2 separate regions of the Homo sapiens genome follow, and region 1 is linked to region 2. Evidence: promoter capture Hi-C in human tissues and cell types (Jung and others, 2019). All regions are on one chromosome and are shown on one strand. Each heading gives the region's core, a stretch centred on a gene start or on the middle of the fragment in contact. The rest is flanking DNA. Distances are from core to core; before and after follow the strand shown. Region 1 has its middle 6.2 kb from the start of WBP2. Region 2 holds the start of RNF157 (ring finger protein 157).

Region 1 (6,140 bases), core at 2,470-4,969, 380 kb after region 2:
CTGGGGAAACTGAACTTGACAGAGCCAGGAGGTCCCAGCGGGAACTTCAGGGTGGGGCCCATCTCTATAGCAACCAGAAACAGCCCCAGACACGCTCTGGCCCTGCTTCTGATGAGGGAGCGGGCAATTTGTGTTCTTGAAATACCCACGGCCAAAAAGGACTCATCCAAAATAGCCCACTTCCACGTCACCAAACATCACCAACGCCTCACAGGGCATCTGCCACTCCGCAGCAGAGCAACCAACGGTGAGTGGCAGAAAGTTACCAATGACTTACCAGGAGTTTTATTTTTCTCACTGGCGTATTAGAAAGAGGACAACTGGCTGAAAGAAAAAGACTTGGTGTATCAAGCACAAATTTGTTCCCCCAAACTCAGGTAAAAGAAATGTCCATTTGAGTAGTTTCCCTAAATCAAGTAAAATGTGATTATAGGCCAGGCACGGTGGCTCACGCCTGTAATCCCAGCACTTTGGGAGGCTGAGGCGGGCGGATCACGAGGTCAGGAGATCGAGACCATCCTGGCTAACACGGTGAAACCCTGTCTCTACTAAAAATACAAAAAATTAGCCGGGCGTGGTGGCGGGCACCTATAGTCCCATCTACTCGGGAGGCTGAGGCAGGAGAATGGCGTGAACCCGGGAGGCGGAGTTTGCAGTGAGTCGAGATGGCGCCACTGCACTCCAGCCTGGGCCATATAGAGCGAGACTCCGTCTCAAAAAAAAAAAATGTGATTATAAGCTGCCCTTTGCCAAGAAAGTAAGAAATTCAACTTCAGGCATATGGGGAGGGGCATCTTCCCCCTCAGTAGAATCACTATTATTATTATTATTATTATTATTATTATTATTATTATTATTATTGAGACGGAGTCATCCAGGCTGGAGCGTACAATCTTGGCTTACTGCAACCTCTGCCTCCCAGGTTCAAGTGATTCTCCTGCCTCAGCCTCCTGAGTAGCTGGGATTACAGGCGCCCACCACCATGCCTGGCTAATTTTTGTATTTTTAGTAGGGACAGGGTTTCACCATGTTGGCCAGGCTGGTCTCAAACTCCTGACCTAAGGTGATTGGCCCACTTCGGCCTCCCAAAGTGCTGGGATTACAGGCGAGAGCCACTGCACCTGGCATTATATGGTGATTCCATGGTGCCCAGGGGATGGGAGAGCTTTCTTCCCTGCACCAACTCTGTTGCTCAGGCTGGAGTGCAGTGGCACCATCTCAGCTCACTACAACCTCTGCCTCCTGGGTTCAAGTGATTCTCCTGCCTCAGCCTCCTGTGTAGCTGGGATTACAGGCGTGCGCTACCACGCCCGGCTAATTTTTGTATTTTTAGTAGAGACAGGGTTTCACCATGTTGGCCAGGCTGGTCTCGAACTCCTTGCTTCAAGTGATCCACCCACTTTGGCCTCCCAAGTGCTGGAATTACAGGCATGAGCCACCCCACCGGGGCCTCAGATGGGAGAGCCTCCACTCTGTTCTCCACTGGGTCTGCTGCTGCTCAGATGCCGACCGTCTGAGCCCAAGTGCTTCTATTTTTTATTTTTATTTTTATTTTTGAGACAGAGTCTCACTCTGTCACCCAGGCTGGAGTGCAATGGCATGATCTCGGCTCACCGCAACCTCTGCCTCCAGGGTTCAAGCAGTTCTCTCGCCTCAGCCTCCCAAGTAGCTGTGATTACAGGCGTGCGCCACCATGCCTGGCTAATTGTATATTTTTTAGTAAAGATAAGGTTTCTCCATGTTGGTCAGGCTGGTCTTGAACTCCCAACCTCAGGTAATCCACCCGCCTCGGCCTCCCAAAGTGCTGGGATTACAGGTGTGAGCCACTGCGCCCGGCTCCAAGGGCTTCTAGCTGCAGCTGAGGCCCCACTGCCCTGGGCCAAGCACATTTTGGGGATGATGCCAAACTCTTGACTCTTAGCTCCAAACCCACTATATTAATGCGCTGGGCTGTCGTAACAAGATACCACAAACCAGGCGGCTTCAACAATCAAAATGGGCCAGGTGCGGTGGCTCACGCCTGTAATCCCAGCACTGTGGGAGGCCGAGGCGGGCACATCACGAGGTCAGGAGATCGAGACCATCCTGGCTAACACGGTGGAACCCCCCCCGTCTCTACTAAAAATACAAAAAAATTAGCTGGGCGTGGTGGCGGGCGCCTGTAGTCCCAGCTACTCGGGAGGCTGAGGCAGGAGAATGGCGTGAATCCCGGAGGCGGAGCTTGCAGTGAGCTGAGATCGCGCCAGTGCACTCCAGCCTGGGCGACAGAGTGAGACTCCGTCTCAAAACAAACAAACAAACAAAAACAATCAAAATGTATTGTCTCAGTGCTGGAGACCGAAGTCTGGAATCAAGGTACGGGCAGGGTTGACTCCTTCTGAGGCTGTGAGAGCGAATCTGTCCCCTGACGCTCTCCTTGCTTCTGGTGGTTTGTTGACAATATGTAGCAATCCGTGTAGCAATCTTGGTAGCTCTCTGCCTCCCTCTTTGCACCGCCTGCCTTCTCCCTGCGTGTGTGTCTGTGTCCAAGTTTCTCCTTCTTACAAGGGCACCAGTCACGCTGGATTTAGGGCCCACCCTAATGATCTCATCTTAACTAATGATGTCTTCAACAACCCTATTTCCAAATAAGGTCACTTTCAGAGGTACTGCAGGTCAGGACTTCAACATGTGAATTTGAAGTCGGGGGGACCGAACTCAACTCATAACACCCACCCACCCAACTCAGCTTCATGGTCTGGCTGGGACTCAGAGCCACATGTCTTTGTTTTCTTAATTTTATTTTTTATTACTACTTTTTGAGATGAAGTCTTGCCCTGTCGCCCAGGCTGGAGTGCAGTGGTGCGATCTTGGCTCACTGCAAGCTCTGCCTCCTGGATTCCAGAGATTTTCTTGCCTCAGCCTCCTGAGTAGCTGGGACTACAGGCACACGCCACCACGCCCAGATAATTTTCGTATTTTTAGTAGAGATGGGGTTTCACCGTGTTGCCCAGGCTGGCCTCGAACGCCTGCCCTCAGGTGATCCACCTGCCTGGGCCTCCCAAACTGCTATGATTACAGGCATGAGCCAATGCACCCAGAGCCACGTTTCTCCATTGCCTGCTGCTCCCTGCCAGGCTCTGCCAAGAGGGGGCGCTAGAGAGGCCTGAAGGGCTGGAGAAGGCCCCAGCCTCCCATCTGCTCACTATTTTTGCCTGTATTGTACCCAGGAAAGCTTCTTCATTGGGGCAGCTGCAGTTCTTTAGCAGCAGCTGAATCCAGTTTCTACTTTTTCCAACCCTTGCAGAACCAGCTACCCTGAGCTCCCTTCAGAGGCACGGGCACCAGCACCAGCCGGCCCAGGCCCGCTCTTCAGAGGGCTGGGTTTTAGTACCCTGGGGCTCCTCTTTCAAGCTTCTGTATTATTGTTGATTTTGGTGTTTTGTTTTGTTTTTTGAGATGGGGGTCTCACTCTGTCACCCAGGCTGGAGTGCAATGGTGCGAACTCAGCTCACTGCAGCCTCTGCCTCCTGAGCGAAGCAATCCTCCCACCTCAGCCTCCTGAGTAGCTGGGACTACAGGTGCGCTCCACCACCCCCGGCTAACTTTTTGTATTTTTAGTAGAGATGGGGGCTTCACCATGTTGGCCAGGCTGGTCTCAAACTCCTGACCTCAAGTGTCCGCCGTGAGCCACCACGCCGGCAGCACTTTTTTTTTTTTTGAGTTTCACTCTTTTTGCCCAGGCTGGAGTGCAATGGCGCCATCTCGGCTCACTGCAACCTCCGTCTTCCAGATTCCAGCTATTCTCCTGCCTCAGCCTCCCGAGTAGCTGGGATTACAGGCTTGCGCCACCATGCCCGGCTAATTTTGTAGTTTTAGTAGAGACGGGGTTTCACCATGTTGGCCAGGCTGGTCTTGAACTCCTGACTCAGGTGATCTGCCCGCCTCGGCTTCCCAAAGTGCTGGGATTAGAGGTGCGAGCCACCGAGCCCGGCCCTTTCAGCAATTTTTTTTTTTTTTTTTGAGACGGAGTCTCACTCTGTCGCCGAGACTGGAGTGCAGTGGCTCGATCTCTGCTCACTGCAAGCTCCGCCTCCTGGGTTCACGCCATTCTCCTGCCTCAGCCTCCTGAGTAGCTGGGACTACAGGTGCTCACCACCACACCCGGCTAATTTTTTTGTATTTTTTTTTTTTAGTAGAGACAGGGTTTCACCGTGTTAGCCAGGATGGTCTTGATCTCCTGACCTCGTGATCTGCCTGCCTCGGCCTCCCAAAGTGCTGGATTTACAGGCGTCAGCAACTGCGCCCGGCTGCTTGCAGCAATTTTTTAAGATGACAAAATAAAACAGAAAATTTCAGAATATATCCCACTACAAAATACAAATTAAGCAGCATGTGGTGGTGGCAGGGCCTGTACTCTCAGCTACTTGGGAGGCTGAGGCAGGACCACTGCTTGATGCCAGGAGTTCAAGACCATCCTGGGCAACATAATGGAACCCCATCTCTACCAAAAAAATTTTTTAAACTAGCCAGGCATGGTGATGTGCACTTGTAGTCCCAGCTACTTAGGAGGCTGACGTAAAAAGATTGCTTGAGCCCGGGAGGTTGAAGGTGCAGTAAGCCATGACTGCACCACTCCAGCCTGAGTGACAATGTAAGACAGGGTCTCGCTCTGTCACCCAGGCTGGTCTCAAACTCCTGGGCTCAAGCCCTATATATTTTTACTGTGGGTCAAGGTAAGGAAAAACAGCCACCGTTTGGTAAATGCTGCCAACCTTTTTTTTTTTTTTTTTTTTTAAATTTTTAGAGGGAGGGTCTCACTATGTTGCCCAGGATGGTCTTAAACTCCTGGGCTGAAGCAATCCTCCTGCCTCAGTCTTCCAAAATGCTGGGATTACAGGCATGAGCCACCTCTACGGGCCTGCCAACCTCTTTTATGTCATGGCACACACAGAAAATGATTTGTTCAGTGAAAATGGTATTTATTTGGCTCACTGGGGCAAACAGATTCATCTTATTGGGAGTCAAGAGGCGACCAGGCGGGGGCGGTGGCTCATACCTGTAATCCTAACACTTTCGGGAGTGTTAGGTGGGCGGATGACTTGAGGTCAGGAATTTGAGACCAGCTTGGCCAACATGGTGAAACCCCATCTCTACTAAAAATACAAAGATTAGCTGGGCGTGGTGGCACGATTCTGTAGTCCCAGCTACTCTGGAGGCTGAGGCATGAGAATTGCTTGAACCCGGGAGGCGGAGGCTGCAGTGAGCAGAGATCATGTCAATGCACTCCACCCCAGGAGACGGGCAAGACCCTGTATCAAAAATAAATACATAAATAATAAATAAAATTATAAACAGAAAAAACAGGTGACCAGTTCAGGGGCTCAGCTGCCCCAGACCTTGCCTGCTGGTATCTGAGGCCAACCTGCACTCCTCCTTAGCGCACCGCTAAGATGTGCTCCAGTGTGGAGAATATGAGCATCATACTGCAGTGAAAAAGAGATCTGGAGACAGGCAGACAGGAGTATGAGGCCAGAGGAGAGGTCTGAGTACTGAGACCTGGGCCCAGGGGAGCCTCCTGCTGCTCACCTGGTTCAGCAATAAACCATTGTTGAAGTCTTCGGTTTGAGTTTTGAGTTCTGGTACGTTCCAGCCCCAAAGTCATGGGAGCCGCCCAGGAAGTGTGTTCACATGGTCATATGTTTTTGTAAAACTTAGAAATTCTGGACATTGTAGCCGGAGCTGGTCAAGCTTGTTATCTCTGCACTGCAACTTCCTCTTCTTGTCATTTCCCCTCCTGTCAGGAGGCCTCACTGTAGCCACAGTATTGTGAATGAATAATTGTGGGGTTGTTTTTTTTTTTTGAGTTAGAGCTTTCCTCTCGTTGCCCAGGCTGGAGTGCAGTGGCTTGATCTCAGCTCACTGCAACCTCCGTCTCCAGGGTTCAAGCGATTCTCCTGCCTCAGCCTCCCGAGTAGCTGGGATTACAGGTGACCGCTACCACACCCAGCTAATTTTTTGTATTTTTAGTAAAGACGGGGTTTCACCACGTTGGCCAGGCTGGTCTCAAATTCCTGACCTCAGGTGATCCACCTTCCTCAGCCTCCCAAAGTGCTGGGATTACAGGCATGAGCCACTGCGCCCGGCCTGTGTATTTTATT
Region 2 (6,919 bases), core at 1-2,500:
CAGCTACTCGGGAGGCTGAGGCAGGAGAATCCCTTGAACCCAGGAGGCGGAGGTTGCAGTGAGCTGAGATCACGCCACTGCACTCCAGCCTGGGCGACAGAGGGAGACTCCGTCTCAAAACACAGAAAAACAAAAACAAAATATAACCAGGAAAGACCTAGACTCCGTAAAATAGCTTTACAAACCTAATCAAGGGAACCAGACACCCCAAACTGTACTTCGAACACTGTTGAAAAGTTGTGAAAGTCATGTTCTAGCAGTTGAAATGTTTGCTGATCAGTCCACTCTCTCAGGAAAAAAAACACCAGACCCACAAAGAAAATAGAAGGTTTAAAACACAAATGTCTGTAATTAAGCAATGGAATGACGTCTTCCGCCGGCCCAAGCTTCCCACTGTTGTGTGTGTTTTTATCAACAGGAGCTCCCGGTTCTGCCTGGCCCGGTTCGCTTTCGCCTGCGTTGACTCTCTTGGCACTCAGGCCTTTCCAAAGTTTCCGGGGTCCCGTTTCCACGATACAGACAGAGGCTGGATGTCTTGATCTTATCCTCAGTCGATGTTCTCCTAACTTTAGGGCTACAAGGAGCCTTAAACAGCATGTATAGAGTTGGGAGCGCTTTGAATAGACGCACGTGAGAGGGAGGCGGCATCTTCCTAGCCGGTCACCAGCATTAACACGGGGCAGGAGACATGCGAATGCACCGTGGGACCCCTCTCCCTACCCCCCTGCATGAGATTTCCGAAGACCTCCGCCGGCCGACGCTGAGGGGCGGGGTTGGGAAGGCTTCCTCCAGGCGCGGGAGCAGCGGAGCGGGGACCGCCCGCTTTGGGACGCCCAGGACAATGGCGAGCGAGCTCCCGGCCAGTCCTCGCGGACCGCGGGAGGGGGCGGCTCCCTGCGCGGTAATCCGAGCCGGGATAAACAGGCGCGGAGGGGCGACGCGTCCCGGCCGGGTGCAGCGCTCGTCTCCTGGGGTCCCAGCTCCGGCCGGTCCCGCCCCGCCCCGCCGCGGGCACCCGGCCGCGCCCCCGTCCCCGTCGCGAGTCCCCGCCCACGCCCACGCCCCCGCCGCGAGGCCCTGGGCCGCGTCCACGCGCGCCGAGTCCAGCCGCGGCTCCCCGCGCGAGGCACGCGCCGCCGGCTCCTGCTGCAGTCCCGCGCTCATTGGCTGCTCCGGCGCGGGCGCTCCCGCCCCGCCTCGCCATTGGCTGGGGCCGCCGCGGTCCCCGCGCGGAGCGGCCGCTGACATCACGCGGCCTGAGGCGGCGGCGGCGCCCCCGGCCCAGACCCGCAGCCCCCTTGGCAGAGGCGCCGCCGCGGTGCCCGGCGGAGGATGGTGCGCGGCGCGCCGGGGGCTCCCCGCCGCCAGAGCCGCAGCGCCGCAGCGGAGCCGGCCGCGGCGGGCAGTCGGCCCCCGCACCGGGCGCGGGGCGGGCGGCCGCGGTGAAGCGCGGAGGGCGGCGCGGGCACCGGGGCCGGGCCGGGGCTGCAGCCGCAGCGGCCATGGGGGCCCTGACGAGCCGGCAGCACGCGGGCGTGGAGGAGGTGGACATCCCGTCTAATTCCGTGTACCGCTACCCGCCCAAGTCCGGTGAGGGCGGGCGGGCGCCGCAGCCGCGAGGAGGGAGAGGGGCAGGGGCAGGGGTCTGGGTCGGGACGGCCTGAGGGGGCCCCGCGGGTCTTCGGGGACTCAGTGGTTGCGGACGCTCCGAAACGGTCTTCGAGCGCGGGAGGTCTTCGAGAAGGCCGAGGTCTCCCCCGCCCCGGGCGAATTAGCCCAAGGGGCGTCCTGCCGGGTCTAGCAGGGTCACCGAGGGCACCGAGCCCCTCCACGGGAGGACGGGAGCGGCCTCCATTGTAATCGGCCCCGTGACGGGGACGCGTGCCCGCAGGGACCGAGGCTCCTGGGGAGCGGGGCTGCGGCGTCGTAGGCGAGGTCGGCGCCCCGCACGGACCCGGCCGGCCCGGCCCAAAGCCTACCTGCCTCGCGGGGTCCGAGGGCCGCGAGGGAGGCGACCTCGGCATCCAAACAGGCACTTGCGCCAGGTGCTATCCCTGCGCTGCCGTCTCCTGGCCTCTGGAAAGGTTAGAATTAGGTTTCTCCTGGAAAAGCTTCCATTGCCTGCTGAAGGATGGAAGCCAAACAGGCATTTGCAGTGCTGGTGCTTTTGCAGAGGCTGTCAGAAGCCGGGGGGTGGGGGGGGTGGTGGTGGTGGAAAGTAACAGAAATGTTTGGGAATCTGAGTATCAGAGTTACTCGGATTGCCCCTTTGCTAGCGTAGTGGCAAGCCTGGGTTTTGGAGTGGGACCAGCTCTGGGACAGGGCAGAGGTATTGGAAACGTATAGAAGTATGTTTGTTATTAGAATCATCCCTTCACTTAAATGTCTCTAGCCTCTGGATTGTGGTATCAGCATTGGAGGTGGAGGAGGATTTTGACAGCAAAGCAGAGAATCACAAGGTAGTTCAGTTATGTGAGCACCGGCCAGTATGAATTGCATGACCTAGCCGGTGTTTACTTTTAATTGCAAGTAGTTTTATTTTAATTAATTACTTTTAATTTTATTCTCAAGACTTCTGAGGATGAATGGCTGCGACATTCTGTCTGCTTAGGACCCGATGGAGATTTTGGTGATTTCGGAATGAGGTGTCAGAATTGGAGCAGAGCCTCGTCTCTTTTTGGTAGAATAGAGACATACTGAGATGAGCTGGTTTCTCAGCAGTGTGTCCAGTGTCTGCCAGGTGAAAGCAGGGGCCAGACGATGAACCTGCCCGCATCCCTGCAGAGTGTCTGCCAGAGCTGTGTTTCTCACTGCTTTTGTACCAAAGAATGAATCCTTGCAAAGATGAATATGGTGAAGAATTGTTTTAGAAAGGTCTAAGATAAAGCTGTGGGTCGTTAGTATTTTAATAAAGCTCTGACTGATTATGACTACATAAAATCAACGCTAACCAAGGCATAGATTTTGTTTTTTAATAGACAAAAATATTCTTAGGGCGGCATGAGGAAAACTTTTTAAAATAGACAAAAATATGCAGCAGTATTTGTGGGCTCTGTTTTTCTTAAACCACATGGCTTTTATTGATCAAAATATGGAGCATACTTTGCTGAGCTTGGAATTTTCAATAGTGTTTGCTGCCTCAGGAAAGTATTCACCGCTCTTTCATATGTGGGACTTAACATAGGTAAACCTCTGGAAGGCTGTTCCCCAAAGCATATTTGTACAAGTATGAATCTTGGGTGATGATAATAAAAAGACAATAGACCAAACCAAAACTTTTGTTAATTAGCACACTCAATAAATAATCCTCTCCTCTCTACCAGTTTTAAAAGTTTAACTGTAAAACTGTAATTCATGTTAAATCAGAAGTTATACATGAGAGAAGTCTTTATAGCAAGTGGACCACATTATTTCTGTTGAAGCTAAAACATAGAAAATAGAATCAGAACATCCTGTCTCTGTCAGCAAACCTTTGTGTATTTGAAACCTTATGTGAGCTTGCATATATGCTCTAGACGGAGGCATCGCCTTTCTTCTGATCTTTGAATTGACCTGGCTCTTTATGGGATTACAGTATTAGTCCTGAAAGGAACCGTTGACAGAGTTTGGCCATGACCACCATGCCTAGCTAATGTTTAATTTTTTTTTTTTTTTTTTGAGTCATCGTCTCTCTCTGTCACGCCCAGGCTGGAATGAAGTGGTGCAATATTGGCTTACTGCAACCTCTGCCTCTAGGGTTCAAGCAATTCTCCCGCCTCAGTCTCCCAAGTAGCTGGGATTACAGGTGTTTGCCACCACACCCGGCTAATTGTTTGTATTTTTAGTGGAGATGGGGTTTCACCATATTGGCCAGGCAAGTCTTGAACTCCTGACCTCTCAGGTGATCCGCCTGCCTCGGCCTCCCAAAGTGCTGGGATTACGGGTGTGAGCTACCACGCCCAGGCAAGTTTTTTGTAGAGACACTCTCTCACTATGTTGCCCAGGCTGGTCTTGAACTCGTGGTCTCAAGCAATCCTCCCGCCTTGGCCTCCCATTCATTTCACTGATAAGAAAATGGAGACCCAGAGAAATGAATTGGTATGGCCAGGGTCTCTCAGCCAGTTAGTGTTCTTCCTACTATACTGTCTGCCTCCACCTCTCAAGGAATTGGGTTTTGAACTTGTACTCAAAAAACAAGACTTAAAACAATCATTCCATGATTATGGAATGAAGGCTATTTCGTGTCATAATTGAAGTCCCTATAGAGGAATCAACCTGGGTTGATTTTGAGAAGTCTCCTTATCCTGAGTACTAACAGTGGAACAAAGCAAGTGGCAGAGTCAGCTTTCTCCAGATGACATACCTTGTAGTTTGAGTGTTAAGTTGAGACCACTATCTGGCTCGCTGGAAAGCGGCTAGACCTGCACTGCCGGTGGAACAGTTGTTTCGGAAAGAAGCACCATCATCTGTCCTTGTAATGACGGTCACAGTGTCCAGCTGAAATTGCTTTTTTCTTAGTATATTTAATGGAACTTCTTAGTTTTGTATGCACATTGAAACAAACATTTAAATCCTATCAAGAATGGCAGATTTCAAGTTGAGACTTGGGTTTGTAGCTTTTTTCTATCCTTAAATAGAGGTAGATAGAAATAAATAGCCTAAATTATTTAGAATTATTTATTTTTGAATAGGTAATATAGTCACACGGTTCAAACTTTAAAAGAATGAAAACGTGTACAGTGAAAGCCTTGTTCTCACCGCTGTTGTCCATCCACCTGGTTCTCCTTCCTCCCTCTAAACCTCCCATCCCATGTAACCACTTTTGGTTTCTTTGGAATTCTTTTAGAGTTTCTTGTGTAAATGCAAGCATAGCATGCTATTAGACTGTTCTACACCTTGCTCTGTTTGCTTTCAGAGATATTGGAGATCTTTTTATATTGTCTCATATTTGATAAGTTTCTTTGTGCTTTTTAACAACTATATAGTATTCCTCTGCATGCATATGCCATCTTTTTTTTTACATAGTCTCCTGTTGATAAACATCTGTGAGTTGTTTTTTCAGTATCTTACTATTGCAAACAGTGCAACAATGAATAATGTTATGCATTAGGTGATTTTTAGATTTATTAATAATTGTGTGAATATTAATCATTTAAGTAATAGAAAGTATGGTGGGAGTTTCTGTATAGCATTTCTACATTAGCATAGAAAGCAATTTAGAGCACGGTTCTACTGTATTTGGATGTACTTTTGTAATTTTTGAGTTAGAAGTCATACATGCTTCTCTAAGATCTTTGCATCTTTAAAAGCCCAAGATCATTTGTTTAGCAAAGAAAGGTATGGCTTTGCGGAGATGGTTGCTTTTATGAAGCTCATCTTTTGACAGAAGTATCCACGTTGATAAAAGTCCACATTGATAAAAGCCTGTTTTCTCTATCCAGGAAGAAATAGGCATAATATAAAGACAGTTTAATTTATATAAAGCAGTACCTCATAAATCTAGTTTGTTTCCCTCCACATACTTGGGCAAGTTGGAAAATAGGAATAATTTGTTTTGCTGAAGTCTTTAAGAAGTAAACCTACTACAGAAATTCAGAATGGTAATCAGAGTCCTGACCAGCTAGCTTGGTTAAACCCGGGTTTTTGCTTTTAAGGCCTTCAACTGACTAGAGGCCCACCCACATAATCAAGGATAATCTCCTTTACTTAAAGTCAACTGATTGTAGATTTTAAAAAATTAAATAATTTATTTTTAGAGACAGGGTCTCACTCTGGCATCCAGGCTGGAGTGCAGTGGTGTTATCAAAGCTCACTGTAACCTCAAAGTCCTGGGCTCAAGCGATCTTCCTGCCTCAGCCTCCTCAGTAGCTGGGATTACAGGCACATACCACCATGCCTGGCTAATGTTTAAAGTTTTTGTAGAGACAGTATCTCACTGTGTTGCCCAGGCTGGTCTTGAACTCCTGGTCTCAAGCAGTCCTCCCACCTCGGGGTCCCAAAGCAGTGGGATTACAGAAGTGATCTACCGTACCCAGCCATAGATGTATCACATCTGTCTACATCATCATTCTCCAAATTTTTGTTATTTTAGAGTACACATATTCTTGTCAAATGGGTCTTTCCTATTGCAAGAACAGTTTTTAAAGGCATGGATAATAAGTCTTTGTCGAATAACTATAAAAGTTTTAATGTAAGTTTCTCCTAGCTTTAGGAGTATCAATTTAATATTAGATTTGAAACCATACACTTAAAAATATGCAATTTACGGCTGGGCGCAGTGGCTCACGCCTGTAATCCCAGCACTTTGGGAGGCCGAGGCGGGCAGATCACGAGGTCAGGAGATCAAGACCATCCTGGCTAACATGGTGAAACCCCGTCTCTACTAAAAATACAAAAAAATTAGCCAGGCATGGTGACAGAAGCCTGTAGTCCCAACTACTCGGGAGGCTGAGGCAGGAGAATGATGTGAACCCAGGAGGCGGAGCTTGCAGTGAGCCGAGATCGTGCCACTGCACTCCAGCCTGGGCGACAGAGCGAGACTCCGTCTCAAAAAAAAAAAAAAAAGTAACCTACTACAAAATAAGGAATTATTTGGTTGGCACAGTTTGACACTTTAAAATATCCAAAACAATTTTGAAAAAGGAACAAAGTTGGAGGACTATCGCTACCCTATTTTAAAAGTTACTATGCATATAATTACTATAATGCCACAGTAATCAAGATAGTGTGGTATTGGCACAATGAAGAGCATATAGATCAGTGGAACAGAGTTATGAACCAGAAATCCTTACATTTATTTTCGGTTGATTTTGACAAAAGTACCGAGACAATTGAATGGGGAAAGGATAGTGGTTTCAACAAATGATGCTGGGATGAGCAAAAAAGAAAATGAACTCAGACCTATTCTTTACATCACCAAAATTAACTCAAAATGGATTAT

What was found. Contacts are between HindIII fragments. The study calls those that stand out against the background at their distance.
Region 1: a fragment that was not itself captured here is called in contact with the fragment with the promoter of RNF157 in region 2 in 1 of the 25 tissues and cell types used here (heart right ventricle).

What each region holds. Positions count from the first base shown.
Region 1 is chr17:75,858,480-75,864,619 of GRCh38, reverse strand. No RefSeq gene overlaps it. Among named protein-coding and RNA genes, the nearest start is that of WBP2, 6.2 kb to the right of the region's middle. RefSeq lists an enhancer at 1-92. The HindIII fragment of the contact is 4,574 bases long and covers 1,433-6,006 here.
Region 2 is chr17:76,234,824-76,241,742 of GRCh38, reverse strand. RNF157 (ring finger protein 157) reads left to right here and starts at 1,250. Exons shown (of 19, transcript NM_052916.3): 1 at 1,250-1,590. The coding sequence starts at 1,503. It overlaps LOC105371896 (a long non-coding RNA gene), which reads left to right. Exons shown (of 6, transcript XR_007065913.1): 6 at 1-881. RefSeq lists silencers at 1,076-1,145, 1,166-1,305 and an enhancer at 1,610-2,282. The HindIII fragment of the contact is 11,074 bases long and covers 1-6,919 here.